2 separate regions of the Homo sapiens genome follow, and region 2 is linked to region 1. The links are contacts of gene promoters, found by promoter capture Hi-C in blood cells and fetal thymus (Javierre and others, 2016). All regions are on one chromosome and are shown on one strand. Each heading gives the region's core, a stretch centred on a gene start or on the middle of the fragment in contact. The rest is flanking DNA. Distances are from core to core; before and after follow the strand shown. Region 1 holds the start of KLHDC1 (kelch domain containing 1). Region 2 overlaps DMAC2L (distal membrane arm assembly component 2 like).

Evidence for each region. Contacts are between HindIII fragments. The CHiCAGO score rates a contact against its expected background, and 5 or more counts as called.
Region 2: a contact is called between a fragment that was not itself captured here and the fragment with the promoter of KLHDC1 in region 1, in 1 of 17 cell types (monocytes). The highest score is 5.6, in monocytes.

The regions. Positions count from the first base shown.
Region 1 is chr14:49,690,298-49,696,273 of GRCh38, reverse strand. It overlaps KLHDC1 (kelch domain containing 1), which reads right to left and starts at 3,154. Exons shown (of 13, transcript NM_172193.3): 1 at 2,984-3,154. The coding sequence starts at 3,079. RefSeq lists silencers at 2,780-2,949, 2,960-3,009. The HindIII fragment of the contact is 4,227 bases long and covers 1-3,662 here.
Region 2 is chr14:50,321,573-50,327,866 of GRCh38, reverse strand. DMAC2L (distal membrane arm assembly component 2 like) reads right to left here. Exons shown (of 6, transcript NM_001382507.1): 3 at 6,273-6,294; 4 at 5,148-5,356; 5 at 3,751-3,922; 6 at 1-2,258. The coding sequence ends at 2,144. CDKL1 (cyclin dependent kinase like 1) reads left to right here. Exons shown (of 10, transcript NM_004196.7): 10 at 1-1,602. Among named protein-coding and RNA genes, the nearest start is that of DMAC2L, 12 kb to the right of the region's middle. The HindIII fragment of the contact is 1,353 bases long and covers 1,250-2,602 here.

The sequences.
Region 1 (5,976 bases), core at 1,905-4,404:
CTTGAGCTCAGAAGGCGGAGGTTGCAGTGAGCTAAGACTTTTCCACTGCACCACAGCCTGGGCAACTCTGTCTCAAAAAAAAAAAAAAAGTGCAAGGTGAAGCAGCATGTGCTCATGTAGAACCTGCAGCAAGTTATCCAGAAGATCTGGCTAAGATACCTGATGAAGGTGGCTACACTAAACAATAGATTTTTTTTTTTTTTTTTCTGAGACAGAGTCTCACTCTGTCGCCCAGGCTGGAGGGCAGTGGTGCGATCTCTGCTCACTGCAAGCTCCGCCTCCTGGGTTCTCGCCATTCTCCTGCCTCAGCCTCCCCAGTAGCTGAGACTATAGGCGCCTGCCACCACGCCTGGCTAATTTTTTTTGTATTTTTAGTAGAGACGGGGTTTCACCATGTTAGCCAGGATGGTCTTGATCTCCTGACTTTGTGATCCGCCTGCCTCGGCCTCCCAAAGTCCTGGGATTACAGGCGTGAGCCAACGTGCCCGGCCAACAATAGATTTTTTAACGTGGATGAAACAGCTTTATATTGGAAGAGGATGCCATCTAGGACTTTCATAGCTAGAGAGAAGTCAATGTCCAATTTCAAAGGACCAGCTAATTCTCTTGTTAGTGGCTAATGTAGTAGCTGTCTTTAAGTTGAAGCCAATGTTCATTTATCATTCTGAAAATCCTAGGGCCCTTAAGAATTATGCTAAATCTACACTGCCTGTGCTCTAACAACGGAACAAGAAAGCCTGGATGACAGCATGTCTCTTTGACAGCATGGCTTACTGAGTAGTTTATTGTTGAGAACTGCTGCTCAGAAAATCTCACTCACTGCTCATTGACAACACACCTAGTCACCCAAGAGCTCTGATGGGAGATCTACAAGATTTATCTTTTCATGCCTGCTACACAATATCCATTCTGTTGCCCATGGATCAAGGAATCATTTTGACTTTCAAGTCTTATTATTTAAGAAAATACATTTCATGGCTGGGCACGGTGGCTCACGCCTGTAAAAAATACAAAAATTAGCCAGGCATGGTGGTGCACACCTGTAATTCCAGCTACTCAGGAGGCTGAGGCAGGAGAATCGCTTGAACCTGGGAGGCAGAGGTTGCAGGAGAGATTGTCTCAAAACACACACACACACACACACACACACACACACATCAAAACTGCATTGCATGTTACAGAGAAATATTTTGTGAAAGGAAGGCTCAATGTGGCAAACTTCATTGTCTTGTCTTAAGAAACTGCCACAGCCACTCCAACCTTCAGCAACAACCACCCTAATCAGTCAGTAGCCAACTACATAGAGGAAGACCCTCCATGAGCAAAAAGAATACAACTCGCTGAAGGCTCAGATAATCCTTAGCATTTTTTAGCAATAATTTTGAAATTAGGTATGTACAGTTTTTTGTTTTTTTGTTTTGAGACGGAGTCTCGCTCTGTCGCCCAGGCTGGAATGCAATGGCGCAATCTTGGCTTACTGCAACCTCCGCCTCCCGGGTCCAAGTGATTCTCCTGCCTCAGCCTCCCGAGTAGCTGGGATTACAAGCATCCGCCACCATGTCCGGCTAATTTTTGTGTTTTTAGTAGAGACGGGGTTTCACCATGTTGGCCAGGCTGGTCTCGGACTCCTGACTTCAGGTAATCCACCCGCCTCAGCCTCCCAAAGTGCTGGGATTACGGGTGTGAGCCACCGCGCCCAGCCAGGTATGTACATTTTTTTTTTACACATAATACTATTGCATGCTTAACACACTACAATGTAAACATGACTTTTATATGCACTGAGATACCAAAAAAATTCGTATGACCTCGCTTTATTGCAGTCATACGAAGTATTCTGCAATACTTCGAGGTATGCCTGTATGTTGGTCATTTCAATATGATTCAGTCACGTTACAGGTCTGTCACATAATGGTAGGGAGACAGAAGATGTAGGTTCTACTATCAGTAGAACTTCCAGATGGCTTAAGAAAAAAAATCTGTAAACTAAGAGGGTTGGCATATAGTATTCCTGTTTTCCAGCTTTACCATTCTTGCTTCTATAATTCTGTGATTATGGACACACAACACACACATACGCTCAAACCTCCATTGTAGTAAGAATTTTAAAGCATAATATTTCTTAGCATATTATTGCTAACATGCGTCTATTTTGAGACTAGAAAAAATAGTCATTAGTAAAGAAACGCCACTAAAAATAGCTTAGAAATATTTAAAATGCAAGCCAGGCACAGTGGCTAATGCCTGTAATCCCAGCATTTTGGGAAGCCAAGGCGGGCGGATCACCTGAGGTCGCGAGTTCAAGACCAGCCTGACCAACATGGGAAACCCTGTCTCTATTAAAAATACAAAATTAGCCAGGCATGATGGCACATGCCGGTAAGCCCAGCTACTAGGGAGGCTGAGGCAGGAGAATCGCTTGAACCCGGGGCGGGGGGCGGAGGTTGCGGTGAGCTGAGATCGTTCCATTGCACTCCAGCCCTGGGCAACAAGAGCGAAACTCCATCTCAAAAAAAAAAAAAAAAGAAAAAGAAAAGAAAATAAATATTTAAATGCTTCAGTGATTTCGATATTTTATTTCGAATCGCGCCGTGGGAATAAGGAAATATATACAAAATGATACAGCACGGCGTCCTCGGGTCCTTCTAGGTCTGCGCCAGTATTTAAGGATAATAATTAATCGCGCTGTAACTGCCTTTGCATTGGGCAAACCGTGGTTACTGAATTGCTGGCAAAGAGGGGCGGAGAGTGGTAAGAGGCCCGGAGCCGGGTCTGAGGCTTTAATAGAAGAAGCAACGGCGGGACGACGTCAAGCCCTGGCGCGGCTGTGGGGGCGGCGGCCAGCGGAGGGGCTGGGGGGCTGCAGGCGCCGGGCGCGCCAGGCCTGGGCCGCAGCCTCGGGAGCGGGTGTGGCGGGCGCTGCGTCCGCTCAGGCCGAGGGTCTCCCGGCGCGAGTCTACCCCGTCCCGCCTCTTCCCCTTACCACGTAGCCCCCCCACACGTAGAGGAAGTTTCCGTCCACCACGGCGCAGTGGCCGCTGCGTTCCTCCGCCACACAGAACAGCTGAGAGTCCGCCATTCGCGCCGTCGCTGGCCCGCCGCTTGCCGCGCCACAACCCCTGCCCGCCCGGCGGCCTCGCCTCCAGCCCCGACTGCTCCACGCACGAACGGAACGCGGCGAGGGTCGAGATTGGTGGGAAGGCGGAGCCAGTGCGTCTGCAACGTCCCGCGGCTCTCGCTCGGGAAGTCGAGCCAGGGGCGGCGCGGCTGTGGAGGGACGTTCTGGCTCCTCGCAGTGGGCAAGGGGCCTGGGCTTTCCACGCGCAGATTCCTTCTCTCTTGGAATTGTGTTTTGGCAGTACAGCCTCATTTAGTAGTCAGTCTGTAGTCAGATTCCTTGATTATCTCAAAATGTCTTTTCTATAGTTGGTTTGTTCAGCACCGTAATTCGTTGTTAACGCCTCTTAAGACTTTACGTCTGTTTTACTCTAGAATAGCTTCTCTCCCTTCTCTCTTGTGCCATTTGTTTGTTATATGGATTAGTTTTCTTATTTTCCTACAGCCGTACCACCTTCTGGGTTTGGTTCCTCAGTGTCTTTTCTCATTAACTTGTGCATCCTTTCCCCATACTTCTTTTAGGCTGGAAGCTGTATCTAAAAGCTTTATTAGATTCTAGTTCAGATTTTTTTTTGGAAAATACTTCATATTGCATCACATTAGAAGGCACTTAAGTCTGGTGCACTTTAATGATACTTTCTATTGTTTATTTTTGACTATACAAATAAACAGAGTATCTGCTCCTTTTCTTACACAAAAGGAAGTATATACAGTGTTCCTTAACTTTCTCTTTTCACTTGACGATCCATATCAGGATACAGCAAGCAGTCTCCTCAGTCCTTTTCATAGCTTCATAGCACTCCACCGATTGGATGTGTCATAGCTTATTCAAACAGATTCTTATTGATGGACATATCGGTTATTTCCAGGTTTTTTTGGCTATCATAAATAATGCTGCGATGAAACGTTATGCATATGTTATTTTGTATTTGTACAAGCCTATCTTTGGAGTAGAGTTCTAGATGTGGAATTGCTGGGTCAGAGGATAAATGCATATTTAACTTTACAAATGTAACTGGATTGCAGTGGCTCACGCCTCTCATCTAAGCACTTTGGGAGGATGAGGTAGGCGGATCACTTGAGCTCAGGAGTTTGAGACCAGCCTGGCCAACCTGGGCAATCCCGTCTCTACTAAAAATACAAAAATTAGCCGGGCGTGGTGGCGCATGCCTGTAATCCCAGCTACAAAGGCAAGAGAATCGCTTTAACCCGGGAGGTGGAGGTTGCAGTGAACCGAGATCGCGCCACTGCACTCCGGTCTGGGCGACAGAGCAAGGTTCCTTAGAAAGAAAGAGAGAAAGAGAGAGAGAGGGAAAGGGAGAGAGAAAGAAAGAAAAAGGAGGAAGGGAGGGAAGGAAGAAGGGAGGGAGGGAGGAAGGGAGGAAGGAAGGAAGAAATTCAAGATAGACAAAAGTGATCTATGATAATAGAAAGCAGAAAAGTGGTCATTTGGGAGTAGGGAGGGGGAGGGGACTGATGGAAAGGAGTACAGGAAGTGTTCTGGAGTGATTAAAATGTTCTGTATCTTGATTGAGGTGGTGGTTACATGGGTGTATACATTTATCAAAATGCATTGAACTGCATACAGATATGTGCATTTTACTTAGTGTAAACTATATGTCAATCATAATTCTCACTCCATCACTTTATTGTTACTAGTAATATTGGTATTGTATTTTTGAAATGGAGCATTTGTCCTCCTGGACTGTAGAGTCTGGTGGAGTCTATAGACCAGCAAACAGACAATTACCATACCGTGCAGTAAGTGTGAAAATAGCAAAAGTCCAGGGCACCTTGGGTGTACAGAGGCCCTTTAACTCAGATTGAGGGAAGACAGGGAAGGTTCCTGAGAGAAAGTAAAGTCTAAGTTAAGAACTGAATGATGAACGGAAGTTGTTCAAGGAACTTTCATTCGTGAGAGGGAAGAGTCAAGGATATGCCTAGTTTACCAGCTTGGTCACTGGGTGGGAGGTGGGTGGAGCCCTTCGCTAGGTTATTGAACATGGGAGGAGGAACAGGTTTGGGGGAGGGCAGGGCTAATGGTGAGTTCATTTGGAGGCATATTGAGTTGGATTTGAAGTCTAAGAGAGCTAAGGGCTAGAGATAGGGATTTTGGAGTCATCAGCATATAATTGTTCATTTAAGTATTGGGACTTTATGAGCTGGCCAGGTGAAGGAGCCATAGAAGAAGTTGAAAATTTATTAGAGAAAGAGAATTATGATTGGGAACATTTATGGGAAAAGGGGAATTGTGAGGTCAGATTGTGAGAGAAAGCTGGGCAACTGGAATTGATTATTTTCTCTCCAATTTCTTAATATAAAAAGTAGCAAACCAAAAAAAGTTGAAAAAATAGTTCAAAGAGTACCTGTGTATCTTCCACTCCAGGTTAATAATTATTAATACTACCATACTAGCTTTATGTTTGTTGGTATGTGTGTGTCTGTCTTTTTCATTTTGTTGAATTATTTGAGAGTGGGAGTGCCTTATGGAGAAAATACATGTGATAAATAAGCTTCCTTCAGCTATGAGTTATAGGGCTCTTGGCCCTGAGTTCAGTGTTAACGAATCACAATGTAAAGATGTCTTTACATAAAAACACACATAAAACAAGGTTATAGGCCGGGCGCGGTGGCTCACGCCTGTAATCCCAGCACTTTGGGAGGCCGAGACGGGGGGATCACGAGGTCAGGAGATCGAGACCATCCTGGCTAACACGGTGAAACCCCGTCTCTACTAAAAATACAAAAATTAGCCGGGCATGGTGGCGCGCGCCTGTAGTCCCAGCTACACGGGAGGCTGAGGCAGGAGAATGGCGTGAACCCGGGAGGCGGAGCTTGCAGTGAGTCGAGATCGCGCCA
Region 2 (6,294 bases), core at 677-3,176, 630 kb before region 1:
AAGCTGTTAAACACAACATTGTTAAACACAACGAAAATTCATTTTTCTACCTGAAAGCTGTATCATAGAAAATTATTTTCAAGTTTATATTCAACAGCTTAATAATGTTCAAACCAGGCTGGGCGCGGTGGCTCCCAGCACTTTGGGAGGCCGAGGCGGGTGGATCCTGAGGTTAGGAGTTCAAGACCAGTCTGGCCAAGATGGTGAAACCCTGTCTCTACTAAAAGTACAAAAATTAGCTGGGCGTGGTGGTGGGCGCCTGTAATCCCAGCTACCTGGGACGCTGCGACAGAGAACTGCTTGAACCCGGGAGGCAGAGGTTGCAGTGAACTGAGATCACACCACTGCACTCCAACCTGGGCAACAGAGTGAGAGTCTGTCTCAAAAAAAAAAAAAAAAAAAAAAAAGTTCAAATCAAACACACAGAAATCTATAAACAAACTGGCATATAAGAGTAATAGAATCAGGGCCATTTCTCACAGGTAACAATGAAGACCTGTTTTATCTATTTTTCACTTTTTTTTTTTTTTTTGAGACAGGGTCTTAATCTGTTGCCCAGGCTGGAGTGCAGTGGTGCCAACATGGCTCACTGCAGCCTCGACTTCCCGGGCTCAACTGATCCTCCTACCTCAGACTCCTGAGTAGTTGGGACTACAGGCATGTGCCACTACACCCAGCTATTTTTTATTTTTTAATTTTTTGGTAGAGACAGGGTTTTGCCATGTTGCCCAGGCTCGTCCTGAACTCCTGGGCTCAAATGATCTGCCTGCCTTGGCCTTCAAAAGTGCTGGGATTACAGGCCAGCCCTTTTTTTTAAGAGACAGGGTCTCCCCCTTTCACCCAGGCTACCAGGCTGGTGTGCAGTGGCCGTGATCATAGCTTACTGCAGCCTCAAACTCCTGAGCTCAAGCAATCCTACCACCTCAACCTCCCAAGTATCTGAGATTACAGGTATGCACCACCATGCCTGCCTAATTTTTAAAATTTTTTTAGAGATGGGGTCTCACTGTGTTGCCCAAATTGGTCTCAAACTCCTGGTCTCAAGTGATCCTCCCACCTCAGCCTCCCAAAGCACTGGGATTACAGGCACGAGCCACGGCACCCAGCCTAAAGCAATGTTAGGTTTCAAGAAAAACCTAAGCATAGCCCACTAGTTTTTACTGTTTCCTTTATTATATTGCAATCTGCAAAACTATTTGTATTCAGCCAAGTATCTATGTCCAGTTTTAATAAAATAGTAGCCTAAGCTTACAAAATAGACAAATTAAGCAGCAACTGTTGATTCTGAGTAAGTCTGTATGCTATCAAGAACACAAGAATGCAGGATCATGGGAAATGCACGCAAATCCTGTTGAAGCAATGCATGCTTCAACAACCACTGACCACTTTGCATAATTGACTCCATCAATGAATCTGTAATTTAGCTTCTAATTTTTCATAATTGTGCATTTATGGTAGTATGCTTCACTAACTTTAAAGTTAAATGTAAATTACTGTTATAATAAAAACATCTGTTGTACAAATAACTTTAAAGGATTCTAAATATCTACATCAAGAGATATCTATAGATTTACATATTAAATGAATATATTAGAATTAAAATGTTACCTAGTTTACATTTTTCTTTTTTTTTTTTTTTTGAGACAGTCTCGCTCTGTCACCCAGGCTGGAGTGCAGTGGCACAATCTCGGGTCCCTGCAACCTCCACCTCCCAAGTCAAGTGATTCTCCTGCCTCAGCCTCCAGAGTAGCTGGGATTAAAGGCGTGCACCACCACATTCAGCTAATTTTGTTTTTTTAGTAGAGATGGGGTTTCACCATGTTGGCCATGGTTGGTCTTGAACTCCTGACCTCAGGTGATCTGCCCGCTTTGGCCTCCCAAAGTGCTAGGATTACAGGCATGAGCCACTGCGCCTGGCTGCACTTTTCTTAAAATGAATTAATGTTCATAAATTCTCACTTCCAACTTAGTAACATTAATGAGCCACGTCTGAATATTTATTTTCTACATATGATGCACTCTCCACTTCTAAAATGTCATGATATGGCATCCTTATAATTCTACTGATGACTATATAATATTAGTTGATGTTTGGAATCAACAGTTTCAAATGATCCTTTATACTGAAATAAGACACATTATTTTACTTCAATTGTAATTTTAGTTCCAGAGAAGGCAGTGCTGTCTTAAAGGCTTGGACAAGATTTTCTTTTTCTCTTACTCCAGGAAGATCACTTAACAACAAATATTTGAGGTTTCTGCAAATAAAGAAAAAAGTCACTTCAATTTGGCCAAGAGCATTAAAAATAAATTCAATTTACTGACTTAAAGAAAGAAAATTATGTAGAAAATGAATCTATATCACCCTATGCCTTCAAAATTACTTTTAGAGCAGTAGCCTTAGAGATGAAATTCATGCCAGGAAGTAACACAGACTTTGGGTTACATCAATATTTCTAGCTGAATCATTCTAAATAAAATATATATTTATAATGATGTAGATATTCTTTGCATGTGAAACATGAAATGTGAATCTCAACCCCAAAAGGGCAAAAGCTGGGAAAATTCTTAGATACTAGAGTTTCTACTAAAAGATGAAGCTTTGAAGCTTCAAGTAATGTAAGAGATGAACAATCTAGTACTTTTGGTCCTAATGTTTAAAATTTCTTAAACTTCCTGTGATACTGAGGTTACTGGCAGATCCATTATATATTAAAGCAGAACTACATTAATTAGATACATAATTTGAATGTTGAGATCTCTAACACAGGGATTTGATTAAACAAACTTCTAGGCCGGGCACGGTGGCTCACGCCTGTAATCCCAGCACTTTGGGAGGCCGAGGCGGGCGGATCATGAGTTCAGGAGTTCGAGACCAGCTTGGCCAACATGGCGAAACCCCATCTCTACTGAAAATACAAACATTAGCCGGGCGTGGTGGTGCACGCCTTTAATCCCAGCTACTCAGGAGGCTGAGGCAGGAGAATCGCTTGAACCCAGGAAGCGGAAGTTGTAGTGAGCCAAGATCATGCCACTGCACTCCAACCTGGGCAACAAAAGCAAGACTCCGTCTCAAAAAAACAAACAAACAAAAAAACTTCTATTCTTTTTTCATCACGCCGATGAGACTCAGAATCTTACAAATTTTAGAATTAAACATTCCTTGCTAGTATTATCTGTTTTTGCATTTGGGATTAGGTGACTTGCTCCAGGCCATGGCGTGGGTCTGGTTGGTGGCACAAGAGGATGTAGAACAGCTTTCCTAACCAGTGGATGCATGCTTTTGATGATTATTACAGTGTCAGGCAGTGTTCTAGGCTCTAGAGACAGAAAGGTGAATATTTCAAGGTTTTTCTCCCCTCAAGCAAAATAATTACACAGTAAAATGCTAATAGGTATATACCAAATGTCTTGAAAATATTAAAACCATAGGAGAAACTGCTTTAAAAAAAAAGGAGAGAAAGCATAATCGTTGATGCTTACTGAGGGCTTACTGTGGCAGGCACCATGCTAGGTGCTTAATGTAGATTTAATTTTTTAAAATATACTCTATAAAAAATTCAATACAACATTAATGTATTAAGGTTGATCATTTTAGCTGTTTTAAAATATTACAGATGAAAGTGAGGTCATTTTTTAAAATTATCTTTTTTAGAACTAAAAAAAGACACCACCCCTCACAGTCAATTAAATTCTAACTATTCACCTTAACAGCATTATCAAGTTTCCACTTTGGCTTTGATCATCTACCTTAAATGACGCAAAGCAATGATGCCTTTGTCTGTGATATTCCCACAGGATATTATTTCCATTTCCAATATGGTTTTTTGTAAATTTTCAAGTTGACTAAGTCTCAGCAAACAGTCATCCTCGATATAATGACACTTGCACAGCCTTATTTTTTCAACATGCTCTAGGCCCTCTGGGGAGAAAAAGTACAGATTAAGAATCTGCTTTACCACTAAGATGACAAACTGTCCTGGTTTGCCCACGACTGACTTGGTTTTAGGACTGAAAGTCCTATGTCCTGGGAAACCTCTTAGTTCCATGAAAACTGGAATGACTGCTCACCCTATTAACCATATAAGGAATTCACTATAGAGCTTGTGCTGATGGACAGGACCATTCCGCAGTCAGATGCCCACACACTGGAGGAAAGAAATGCCCACATAGGGCCAGGCCCAGTGGCTCACACCTGTAATCCCAGCACTTTGGGAGGCTGAGGCGGGTGGATCACCTGAGGTCGGGAATTCAAGACCAGCCTGGTCAACACGGCAAAACCTTGTCTCTACTAAAAATAGAAAAATTACCCTGGCGTGGTAGTGCACACCTGTAGTCCCAGCTACTTGGGAGGCTGAGGCAGGAGAATCACTTGAACCCAGGAGGTAGAGGTTGCAGTGAGCCAAGATCACGCCACTGCACTCTAGCCTTGGTGACAGAGTGAGACTCTGTCTCAAAAAAAAAAAAAAAAAAAAAGAGGCCGGGTGCAGTGGCTCACACCTGTAATCCCAGCACTTTGGGAGGCCGAGGCAGGCGGATCATGAGGTCAGGAGATCGAGACCATCCTGGCTAACACGGTGAAACCCCATCTCTACTAAAAATACAAAAACAAAATTAGCCGGGCATGGTGGCGGGCGCCTATAGTCCCAGCTACTCAGGAGGCTGAGGCAGGAGAATGGCGTGAACCTGGGAGGCAGAGCTTGCAGTGAGCTGAGATCGCGCCACTGCACTCCAGCCTAGGCGACAGAGCAAGACTCTGTCTCAAAAAAAAAAAAAAGAAAGAAAGAAAAAAAAATGCCCACGTAAGCAGAAGCTGTGTGGATATAATTATTCCTGCATTATTGAGGGCTTCTCAATGACAGAAGTTTGACAAAGATAGTTTGACAAACAAGGCCCTGGATTTTAAGTCAATAAACCAAAGACTAGAGACATACAGAAACAAGCTTAGTGAGAGGAGGAAGGAGAGGAAGGTGTCTGTAACCTCAATTTAATTTGAAAATAAATATCAAACACAGGAAGAAACAAACTTGACTATAATGAAATGGGCAAAAAGGACATACCTATGACTATAATCGTGAGTCAACTGCAACAAAATGGTCACTGCAAATCATCTGCATTTTCTATTAGCAAAACGATAGGGTAGTTACCCATGTGATCAAATCCAATGCTCATGATACAAGAGTCGGTGGCGTCGATCGCCTGAATCTTGTATTTGTCCAGAGGGCCTGTTGGAAGGTGGTTGTAGTCCTTCTGCCACCTCTCCTGGCCATGGTAGCGCACCATGGCCCCACAGCGCAGCAACCACTCGGATGCCGCCCTGTCAGGGCCAACATCCCTGATGCGATCATAATCCACCCTGTTGGCAAGAGAAAAAAAGCAGTTTGCTTTTACAATAATCACTAGCTTGTTAACTATATTAACTGACATAAATAATACAGAACGCAACAAATTTTCATTTCAAGTGACTGACGAGGAAGATAAATTAGTGAGATCCATGCAAAAAAAACAAAAACAAAAACAAAAAAACCTGCAGTCTATCTGCTGACTTTTTTAGTTTTGTTTTTGTTTCCACGTGAACGCTGTCAAGGCGTATTATTTTTATATGAATTTATCAGACACAACGTTTCATTGATTCACATATAGTACAGTGCTTGACACCAGAGATACTTAGTAACTATTCTACGAATGACTATACTTGGTTAGAATTTGTATTAATAACAAAAGATTAAAGAGAAAATAATTCTGAATCTGTGGTCAAATTAATCTCATTAAGTGATATTTATTAATTTCTACATATGCTTTTTTCTCTAGCTAGTGATCATAATGCTGTATTAAGTAATTAGAAGGTTAGTTTCAAGTTTCAAAATGACATTTCTAAGTGTGCCACCCACTAATTTTTTGAAAACCCAAGTTACTTTGATAGAATTCAAAAGGTTAACTACATTCCTTTAAAAAGCCATAAAAATAAAATACTTTAAAATTATATTTAATAAGTTTTTCTGATTATAAAATGTTTTAGAAAACTTGAAATATATCAAAAGGACAAGTAAGAAAAATCATCGAAATCCTGCAACCCAAACAGCCACAATTAATATTTTGTAATCTGTTTTTCTGGTGTTTTTTCCATGTTTGTGTGGGTTTTGTTTGTTTGTAAACAAAATTAGGATCACACTGCACAAACTGTAAATATGAGAAATAGCCAAACAAGCTATTGGGAACTTATTTAGCTGTAACCATCTCCACATTTCTTCACTTTATTTAGAGTAACTTACTTATTAAACACTGCATTCAACC